Regions from separate parts of the Homo sapiens genome. Here regions 1 and 2 are each linked to region 3. Evidence: promoter capture Hi-C in 16 types of primary human blood cells and fetal thymus (Javierre and others, 2016). All regions are on one chromosome and are shown on one strand. Each heading gives the region's core, a stretch centred on a gene start or on the middle of the fragment in contact. The rest is flanking DNA. Distances are from core to core; before and after follow the strand shown.

Region 1 (3,568 bases), core at 665-3,164, 590 kb after region 3:
CGGGAGGCTGAGGCAGGAGAATTACTTGAACCCATGAGGCAGAGGTTGCAGTGAGCCGAGATTGCACCACTGCATTCCATCCTGGGCAACGGAGCAAGACTCTGTCTCAAAAATAAATAAATAAAAAATAAAAAATGGTGTTTTACCAACACACTGTTAACCAAAAAAAAAAAAAAACCAAACCAACATGTGAAGACTTCAAATCATGCAAATAATAATGATACAAACAGCAGCAAATAACAGGTGGGAGCACTTCTCTTGTGCCAGGCCCTGGGTAAAGTGCTGTAGGTGTAGAGTGCACTGGTTAGGCACAAGAGCTCAGACTGATACCAACCTCCGGCTCCAAATGACCACAGTCAAATCATCATGTCTGGTGTTATCTTATCTGTGAGATAATAATAGCATCTACTCTCTAGGCATGAAGTTGCAAAGACTGAGACTGTGTAGGGGAGAGAAAAGGGAATAAGGGCAAAACAGAAGAAGAAAATTTAGAGCTCCAATTTCACAAAAAGATAGGCATAATCACTGCAGCCTGGAGGGTGTGACAGGTAGTTGAGAACAAGGCATTCTTAAAATAGCAAAATAGAAATGGCCCACCAAACCACTGGGCTAGACTATCACTGTGTCATAATTTACCTTGTACTTCTGCACTTAATTTTTTTCCCTTTCATTTCATTATTTTCAAAATTTTCACTAATTTCCTATTTCTCTTTTCATGAATGTCTCCATCACTGAATGAGGAGTTCCCTGAAGATGAGGGCTGTGCTTAGATCTTTCATTCTCTGCCCATAGGACCATGCTAGACCCATAATTAATTGTGGTAAAATGATCAAGTGAACAGTAAGAAAACACCACATGAAAAGAAATTGATGTGAATGAGAATTTTAAGAATTTTTCAGGAAAAAGATATAAAAACACTTTCACAAAACAGAAAATTGGTAAGAGGAAATAATAATTTTTATAAGTAATATATATTCAACACATATATATTCACACACAAACATATGTTTGTGTGTGCAAACATATAGTTTGTCATTAAGATCCCCAAAAGTGACTTTCACTGAGTGTAACTCCATTATTCATTGTTTCCTCACCCCATATCATTTCTTCTAAATAGATAATGAGCACAGGTTTATGCGCTTCCCTATTTTGAAGAAGTGAGAATTTTAACTTAAGACTGGGAAAGAGTGAAGAAGAGCCTTGGAACTATCTGAAATGGGTAGAGGAAGGACATTAGCAGGGAGAACAGGGGCCATGCTGTTCTCCTGAATTAACCCCAGGATAAGGAGAACTACCTGGGCATTCCTCACTAAGAATTCATCACTGTCCTGGCTCTTAATCTCTATATTTACCACCTATTTTCTTGAGGTCCTCCCCTGAATTCAGAATTTTTCTCTGATTGACAATGTGATTGAACTCTGATTAACCTGTCTTCTGAGCAACCCTCCACTGGTGAATAAAAGCTTCATATCTTCACACATTGATCATAAAACATATAACTCTCTCCTCCCAGAAATTCTCAGTCAAGCAACTCCCTCTCAGACAACTTGATTTCAGCCAGTCATAATTCCCCCTAAGTGCACATACACCTTATTTTGGGATGATCCCCTTCATATCTAGCATACACGTTAACTCCTAGGAAAGCTACACTTTATACAGGTTAGCCTAGCTTTTCATGTGTTCCTGGTTGAGACATAACCTAGTACCTAGCCTCAAAAAATATTTGAGGAAATGACTTAGTGAATGAGCTGTCAAGAAGTCAACTCCCTTAAGTGCTTGCCCCCGAGCATGTGACACAGGATACACAATTGGATTCTACTCAGAAAGTCCCCTCTTCCTTCAGACACTGTGTCAACTGGAAACAGAGCTATTAAAGTTGAGAAAGTAAAAGAATCTATGCATAGGCTAGAAATTTGCTCTTCAATACTAACACATGCCAAAAACTTATGTATCACTAGCCTGGAACGAATGTATCTGCTCTGATCCCTGAGGCTCTGCCTTTTACCTGCATCTCTTAACCTCATTACGAAATAGGTACCAACTAAAACATAACCACCAAATCCTATGGTATCCTCTCCATTGTAATTTCCATTTCAGCAACTGTCAGGGAACAGCTCTTTCGGCAAAATTAAACCGTGCTTGAGAACAGACCTATTCCCACCTTATGTACCTCTAGTCCCCTAACTTGATCTTTCATTGTACTGAATTTTGATGGCACAGAGCCAACCTTACGAATTCCTTGGTGTTCACTTTTTTTAAAACTGTCCACATACAGTTACTGTTTGTTTCATCCAAGTAAACATCATATGTAATAAATGTCTTATTAACCAACCAATAGTTTCTTATACCTGGAAGGTGTTCAATAAAAGCTTTGTGTCCAACCTAAAAATAAAATACTTAGTAACAGCCATATTTAAAACCCATATAACTCTCAAACCATGCATTTACAATGTGTTCTTTGATTTTTAAATATCCATAAGTAATATTATTGTCACCAAGGAATAATCAGCAGAAGCCACAAAGCAAAAAAGCATTTTTTTATAAACCATGCATCTGGAAATTTTAAATAGGAGAAAGATTATTTTGTTTCATTTGAATGTTCTGCCAGCTGCTTGTATTTCTTTTTTGAATTAAATTAAATTAAACTAATTTCTAGACGTTAATTTATCAATAGTTTCTGAGCAACCATTGTATTTAAGGTTTTAAGCATATGGCATGGTTAATATGCCATACATTTATTTTTCTTAAAAGTACAATTATAATTTAAAATACCCTAATAGAACACAGTCTTTTAAAAACTTTGCATAGAAAAATTATTATAAGAACATTCATGTTTTATAATTTTTGGAGTCAAAATGACAAAACCAAATGTCTTAAAGAAAAATCGGAATTTATTGATCATGGTTGTTTTATATATTAATGCTATAAAGCTAAAAGTGAATATGAAATTGACTGGCAGAAGCGAACCTGTCCTACACATAGCGAACTGAAAACAGACACCTGAAAAGATCAGCCAGTTTTTTATTAGATAAAAATAAGAAGGTACCAAACGCTATTAAAATGGCGTAAAGTTGGTGTTACAATCTCATCGAGCTAAAAATAGGTCACAGTTAGAATGACCTTAAGGGAAAATAAACAAAACAAAACAAAACAAGGTAAGGCCAATATCACAAAGTGATTAAAGAGATGGAAGATAACTCTCTCCTAAGTCATTAAACTCACCGATATCATACTGAACTCCAGAGCACTTAGTATTTTCATGCGCCATTAGAGAATTTAGTGGGTTCACTGAATTGACTGATTTCTTTGTTAATCTATTTACATGGGTTAAGACCCTGACTAACATAAAACACAACCAAAAAATGCCAGACAGAGAGTGTAATGAAAGACTGAGTGATGTATGGTTTGGGGTACAGCCTATCCGATAAATGTGCTTGGCCAGCAAAGAACCCATTGGCAAAGATTTATTATCGGAACAAATACATTCTAAAAAGATCTAATACAATAAAACCTGCAGTATAAACACAAACTACTCTAAAATACAAATCTTTTCCCCGAATAGTTGATC
Region 2 (3,509 bases), core at 13-2,512, 750 kb after region 3:
CAAGCCCCTGGAGGGCATGAATCAAGGTCCCTATGTGTCCTCTCCTAGGGCTCATACTGTTAGACTGGAGCCACAGAAGTTTGGGAACCAGACTTAACACCTTTGTAGAAAAGTTCCTACCTAATGGTACGGATTTGCTCAAAACATTTTTGCTATATGAACTCCATATATGGTAGATCTGTTTATTGTGCTCAGATAATTTTTATCTTATAAATTATTAAGAAAGGAATATTTAATATGACTGCCTAATCCACTCGACATTTAGACTAAAAAGTGACCTACATTATCACTTTAAAGTTAGTCACAATAAATACAACTTACAATGTTCATAGATATTCAGGGTTAAAAACAACGAAACAATGTACTTTTTTTTTTATCAATAAAGAAGTTCAGTTCACAGATAACTGAACATAATATGAAATCACAAATGTACCTTCACTCCTCTTTTCAAGTAGGATCCTTTACAATTTCATAGTGCCTGTGGGCTCTACCCTTTGTAGCACATCATGGGTTTCTATTGTTGGTTAGTTAGCTGGTTTTTATCCTGCAAATGGTGACAGATTTGTGATGATCAACCCAATTCTCTCACCACATCTTCCCCACTGAGACATACATTTTTATGATGGCAGATACAGCCTATAACCAAGAAACTAAATAGGTCAAGTCCACCAGTCTATACAAAGAAATCTTATTAAACTAACCTATCAAATCTAATCTTATTAAATCCCAAACACTGGCAGGGCACGGTGGCTCACTCCTGTAATCCCAGCACTTTGGGAGGTCGAGGCAGGTGGATCACCTGAGGTCAGGAGTTTGAGACCAGCCTGGCCAACATGGTGAAACCCCGTCTCTACTAAACATACAAAAATTAGCTGGGCATGGTGGTGGGCACCTGTAATCCCAGCTACTTAGGAGGCTGAGACAGGAGAATCACCCCATTGCACTCCAGCCTGCATGACAAGAGCAAAACTCTGTCACAAAAAAAAAATAAATAAATAAAAAATCCCCAACACGGTACAGTAGTTTCCCCTCATCCATGGGGGATATATTCCAAGTCCCAGTGGATACCTAAAACCACAGATAGTACTGAGCTATCATAGAACTAACTAACATAGCACAGAGCACACTATATTTTTTCCTATACACACACACCTATGATAAAGTTTAATGTGTAAATTAGGCATAGTAAGTGATTAATAATAACTAATAATAAAAGTGAACAATGATAACAATATACAGTAATAAAAGTTATATGAATGTGGTCTCTCTCTCTCTTAAAATATCTTATTGTACTTTACTCACTTATTTTGAGACCTCGGTGGACCATGGTTAACTGAAACCTTGAAAAGTAAAACCGTGGATGGGAGGGTGGAGGCTACTATAAACAAATGCAATGAATATTAATTGACAATTAGCATCCAAGACTAATCAACCATTTTTACTTGTCACATTTTCAAGTCTAAGTTTATATTTTAGTTCACAATAAAACACACAAAATGAGAGAAATGTACTAGAAAGCAAAGAAGCACATCAGAAGCTACCCCCTCCCCTATGTGCCTTACTTAACCTGTCCTGCCACAGGTTCCTCTAGAGCCACACGACTGCCAGTCCTGCAGTCAAGGAGGATATTACAGCTGAGGGTTCATCCCGCATGACTTTCAGGGCCATGCAGAAAGTAAGGGCTCCATAAATATTTGTTGAATAGATAAATTATTCAAATGGGTTTTATTTTCGTAGCTTTTAAAAGATTCTTAAAAGAGTCTTGTGACTTCCTGCTTGTTGATTACAACTCCCAGTATTTCCATAAATTGAGACTAGTTTAAAAGGTATTTCAATACCACTAAGCAGTAACAGTCATTCTACAGGAGGTATAAAAGTAACATCAGCAACATAATCACAATACGTTAACTTTTTTTTTTTTTTTTTGTCTTGAGACGGAGTCTCACTCTGTCGCCCAGGCTGGAGTGCAGTTGTGCGATCTCACTGCAACCTCTGCCTCCTGGGTTCAAGCGATTCTCCTGCCTCAGCCTCCCAAGTAGCTGAGATTACAGGCATGCGCCACGACACCCAGCTAATTTTTCTATTTTAAGTGGAGATGGGGTTTCTCCATGTCAGCCAGGCTGGTCTCAAACTCCTGACCTCAAGTGATCCGCCTGTCTTGCCCTCCCAAAGTCCTGGGATTACGGGCGTGAGCCACCTCGCCCAGCCACACAATACGTTAACATTTTATATTTGAAAAGCAACGTACTGTTTACAAATGGCTTTCCCTCCACTATCTCATTTAATCATCATAGGTATTACACAGAGTACAACCAATTCTACCACTGTTGTTTTGATGGCGCAGAGGGAAAAAAGGTTAATTCCAGATCAATCATCACATGAGTCAAGACAGAAAATTTTGAACTGAAAGGAATCTAGAAGTTGATCTTGTCCAACCTCCCAGGAAAACTCGAGAAATGTGTTTTTCTCTTTCATTTTAACCTGACTATTTTCTCCTACCTTATCCAAAAAGCTCTGCACATTGTGTTACTAGTTCTACCTATGAGAAGAAAGAGTAAGATGCTGGTACTGCCTGTTGGGACAGCAGCTAAATGTTTACCCAGAGACTTGGCAGATGTAAACATGGCCTTTAAACCCCATCATGGAAAGGGGAAAAGTTGTGTGCCCTTCTAGGAAGATTCACTCATCAACTGGAAAACAGAGATTTTTATGTTTAAATTGCCACCCTGGCTAAAAGGATTATATCTTGATCATCTTCAAGTTAAGAGTAAAGGATACATTCTGCATTCCCCTGAACAAAACACCTAATCCAAACAGATTTTATCTTGTCTCAGTTTAAAAACTGGTGAAAAAAAGCAGAATTTTCCTTTCCATTTCATATTCATCTGATTCAACAAATAAAATATCGGGCCCTAACTATTAATACATGCCAGAAACCAAGTCAGGCACCGCACCAGGTGATACATCTAATTGATTAGGATTAGCAAATTTCTATTCTTTCTCTCGACTGAAATCAATAAAACCCTGTCTTAAATATTAAAGTACTATCCCTGTCCCTCACCTTGACTGTCACTTCTGAGAACATTTGTTTTAAGAAATCAACAGCGACCCGAAGATCAGTAGAGCTTCTTCATCTGTTTTAATATCTCAATCTTATTAAAAGGATTAATCCTGTTAAGACAAAATAGCACCTCCACCTTTCTCTCCCTTCTTCCTTTCCACTCTCCTCCAAATAAAAAGGTTAAGTGACGACATCCAGCCCAAAGAACAATGAACAATAGATACATACACACACACAGCTCTCTCTTCCAGTTTCCAACAGGAACAACACAAGAAAGTCAAATACTGATTAAAAAGAAATGACACACACCATCATTCTTGTCAGTGCATGGAAAGGGAACTTACTCTAATCCATTCAGCAAAATCTGGAGTCAAACTTGGAATGAAAGGAGCATTTTTTTTCCCTGCAAGGTAAGTAAAAGAACTCAGGAATTTTTTAAAAATAAAAT
Region 3 (3,331 bases), core at 62-2,561:
AGATCACTAGGGTTAGGAGGGCAGGTGTTACCAAAAAGGTTAGCACTAGGGAGATCTTTGTGAGGGTGGAATAGTTCTGTATCTTGATCATGGTGGTGGTTACACAAAATATGTAGTAGAATGACATAGGACTACACAAATACTTTATATCAATGCCAGTTTCCTGGCTTTGATACTGTACTAGAGTTATACGAGATGTAATCACTGGGGGAAACAGGTACACAAGACATCTGTACTATCTTTGCAACTTCATGTGAATCTATAACTATTTCAAAATGAAAAGTTTGAAAGAAAATTTTCTCTGAGGCATCTCTCCCTTGCCTTCCTTCATCTTGTGCATTTCTTTCCCTGAGTATGACTTTTTCTCTTTCTTTCTCCCTTTCCCTTATGTACTGGGTTTTCCTTTAACGGTCCATAATGCCAAACTATGTCATTCCCCATCCTCCTATTGTTCCTATTTATTTAATGAAGGTTATGTTTTCATGTGCTTAATTTTAAAAGCAGGAAAGTACTAACTCTTTAAACAAATTTCTTAAAAAACAAAACCCAAAACTAACCTGCTTTTTATTTTATATAATTCAGTTAGTCATTATTCTTTAAGGTCGGAAGTCCACAATACAAACATGTTTCCAACACTTGTATTGGAAGATAATTTTTGTTTTATATGCATGGAGCATTAATATCATTCTTCATGTCTATGGATTATGAACACACACACATTCAGGATTTACTGGGGAAACAGTGACATCAAATATTATGTTCTATTGATTCTTCATATAAATCTACATGTCAAAAAATAATCCTTTGCCAGATCACGTATCCAGATTTTTCGTTTGGAAAATACGAACATTACTACTACAGAATATCAAACTGAATACAGCCCTGTCCTGAGGGCTTGCAAAGTGAATCTGGCAATACTTTGGAAAAGTACTACTGCAGGTTCTCAAGGACCCAAAGAGCTCTCCAGCTTTTCCAGTGGGTTCAGCCCCAAATATCCTAATTTCTTCAATAAATTACGAGTTGCAGGTGTTTAAATATGCAAGTATATTTTGGTCTTTTCGTTATCATTGTAAAACACCAGTCCTAACAAGCAGTAAAGATTACACTTTATGGTGGTAATATTTACAGTTAATGCACTTCTGCATTTCTTCCCGCACATTTTTCTTCTTACTTATTTAAACTAAGCGTTTCCCCTCTTTTTTTAAGCCCCAGTATTAAAAAGAAAATAAAATCCCAAAGAATTTCGCAACATTGCGATTGCACTGGCTTGAGAACGAAGGAAGTTAGTCCCTTGCGGTGATCCGTCCTTTCATCCTGGCGTTTGCCTGCAGCAAGATGGCGGCGGTGTCAATGTCAGTGGTACTGAGGCAGACGTTGTGGCGGAGAAGGGCAGTGGCTGTAGCTGCCCTTTCCGTTTCCAGGGTTCCGACCAGGTAATAGAATTTTCACACTTTTCTTCAAGCTTCTTGGGTCCCTCCATTTTTGCGGAGTCTCTGCTGGCTGAGTTCCGGAGGAGGCCTCGGGGAAGGCGTCCTCTGTTGACCCTTTTCTCGGGAGAAGTCGGGCGGACTAGGGACTGTCTGCTATCAATGGGCGTTGGCCAGGCGAGTGAGGGCGTGAGTGCGAGGCCGGGGAGGAGGACCTGTGGTTTTCTGGAAGCTTTCGTATTCGGCTTGTCGCTGAGGGAGAGGGTCCGTGGAGGTTTTGCCTCCGGAGCTGCAAGCTGAACCTTAGCCCTCAGAGAAGGGGAGGAGTCTCACTGATTTCTGTTTCCACTTTCTGCATCCCTTCCATTTGTCACCTGTTTGCCCACCACTCCAGTCCTTACAGAAGGGTTAAATCACTGTATCCCTTCCATGGTTTTAAGTGGTTTTAATTTGGTTTCTGCATAGGAAGATTGTTTATTCATCAGTCTGCTTGGGAGGAAAACTTGTTTGGAATTCAGTGTTAGTAAAAATATCACTGCTAGTAATATTGGAAGGTAATTTTTAAAAGGCTGGTGGTAATGCCTGGAGGTTTTCTAGGGATTTTGTTAAAGCCTCACAATAATTCAGGGATTGAATTGAGTTGTTGAGGGCTCTTTGCGTCCTTGAGAACCTAAAGTAGTACTTTTCCAAAGTATTGTCAGATTCAGTTGTCAGTTGATTGAGTTGTTACTGTTTTTCCTTGAAGCATTTTTGTGATGATTTTTTTTTTTTTGGCTGTATTAACCTTCCATTTTCTATTTTTCAGAATTTCCTGGAGTTTTTTAAATTATAGTACTAATGCTATACGTACATACACACACATATTAGAACAAAGATTGGAAAGACTGGATGGAGAGATTTGAAGGGGGTAGGAGGTGGATGCAAGTGGTTAAAAGTTGAAAGGAAGGTCTAGTAGAATGCTAATTGATTTAGTGTTAAATATAAATGGAATGCAGAGAATTAGGATGAGTTAATTCGGAAGAATTTTTAAGGATGAGTTTTATTAAGGTTTAAATATAGTGGGTGTTGGGTGGGAAAGAAGAGAGTGTCCCGTAGGGTCCGTGGCTTATGAAAAGGCTTGAAAGCATTAGTTAAACGATTACTAAATACATAGAATAGAGTCACTCAAAAGTAAGGGTGCTAAGATTGGGGAAAGGCAAATGATGTTTGTAATTAAGTGTTCCATATATGGAAAGTATTTTTCCTTTTTCTTTCTCTTTTTTTTTTTGAGATACATTCTCACTCTGACGCCCAGGCTGTAGTGCAATGGCGTGATCTTGGTTCACTGCAACCTCCGCCTCCCGGGTTCAAGCAGTTCTCCTGCCGCAGCCTCCTGACTAGCTGGGATTACAGGCGCGCACCACCACACCTGGCTAATTTTTGTATTTTTAGTAGAGGCGGGGTTTCACCATGTTGGTCAGGCTGGGTTAAGTATTTTTCTAAGGTAAAATACTTCACTGGTTAACTTAGAGTTAATATAGCGGTGACCAAGATTAGCCCTTCCTCCCGTACAGATTATAGGGATTAATTGTCATTCCCAGATAATAATGTACTCATGGTAGCCCCAGAACTGAAAACAAGTTTGAAGGGACCACTGGTTTATGGCTAATCAAAACATGGCTGTAATTTTAAGTCAAAGCCATTTTGTCAGCAATTATAGTAATTGAAGTTGAGATTAGATTTTTGAAACTCTGATGATAATTGTTACTACATATCCAAACTTAAGAGTTTTTGCCTGCAAATGTAAGAGATTTGAAAATAAATCATTTAATCTTGAAAAAAAATCTTAATGCCAGGGAAGACGTTTTTTAAATACAAATTAACACATTTATTTGTTTTCTGTGCCACATTTTTACCCTAAGAGC

The links. Contacts are between HindIII fragments. The CHiCAGO score rates a contact against its expected background, and 5 or more counts as called.
Region 1: a fragment that was not itself captured here is called in contact with the fragment with the promoter of NDUFS4 in region 3 in 1 of 17 cell types (naive B cells); the score reaches 5.9 in naive B cells.
Region 2: a fragment that was not itself captured here is called in contact with the fragment with the promoter of NDUFS4 in region 3 in 7 of 17 cell types (fetal thymus, monocytes, naive CD8 T cells and 4 more); the score reaches 9.3 in fetal thymus.

What each region holds. Positions count from the first base shown.
Region 1 is chr5:54,150,690-54,154,257 of GRCh38, forward strand. All of the region lies in intron 3 of ARL15 (ARF like GTPase 15), which reads right to left. Among named protein-coding and RNA genes, the nearest start is that of ARL15, 160 kb to the right of the region's middle. The HindIII fragment of the contact is 906 bases long and covers 1,462-2,367 here.
Region 2 is chr5:54,304,483-54,307,991 of GRCh38, forward strand. The region is part of intron 1 of ARL15 (ARF like GTPase 15); the gene reads right to left. Among named protein-coding and RNA genes, the nearest start is that of ARL15, 4.3 kb to the right of the region's middle. RefSeq lists an enhancer at 190-853. The HindIII fragment of the contact is 5,398 bases long and covers 1-3,509 here.
Region 3 is chr5:53,559,328-53,562,658 of GRCh38, forward strand. NDUFS4 (NADH:ubiquinone oxidoreductase subunit S4) reads left to right here and starts at 1,312. Exons shown (of 5, transcript NM_002495.4): 1 at 1,312-1,433. The coding sequence starts at 1,336. RefSeq lists an enhancer at 1,214-1,713. The HindIII fragment of the contact is 3,063 bases long and covers 1-1,460 here.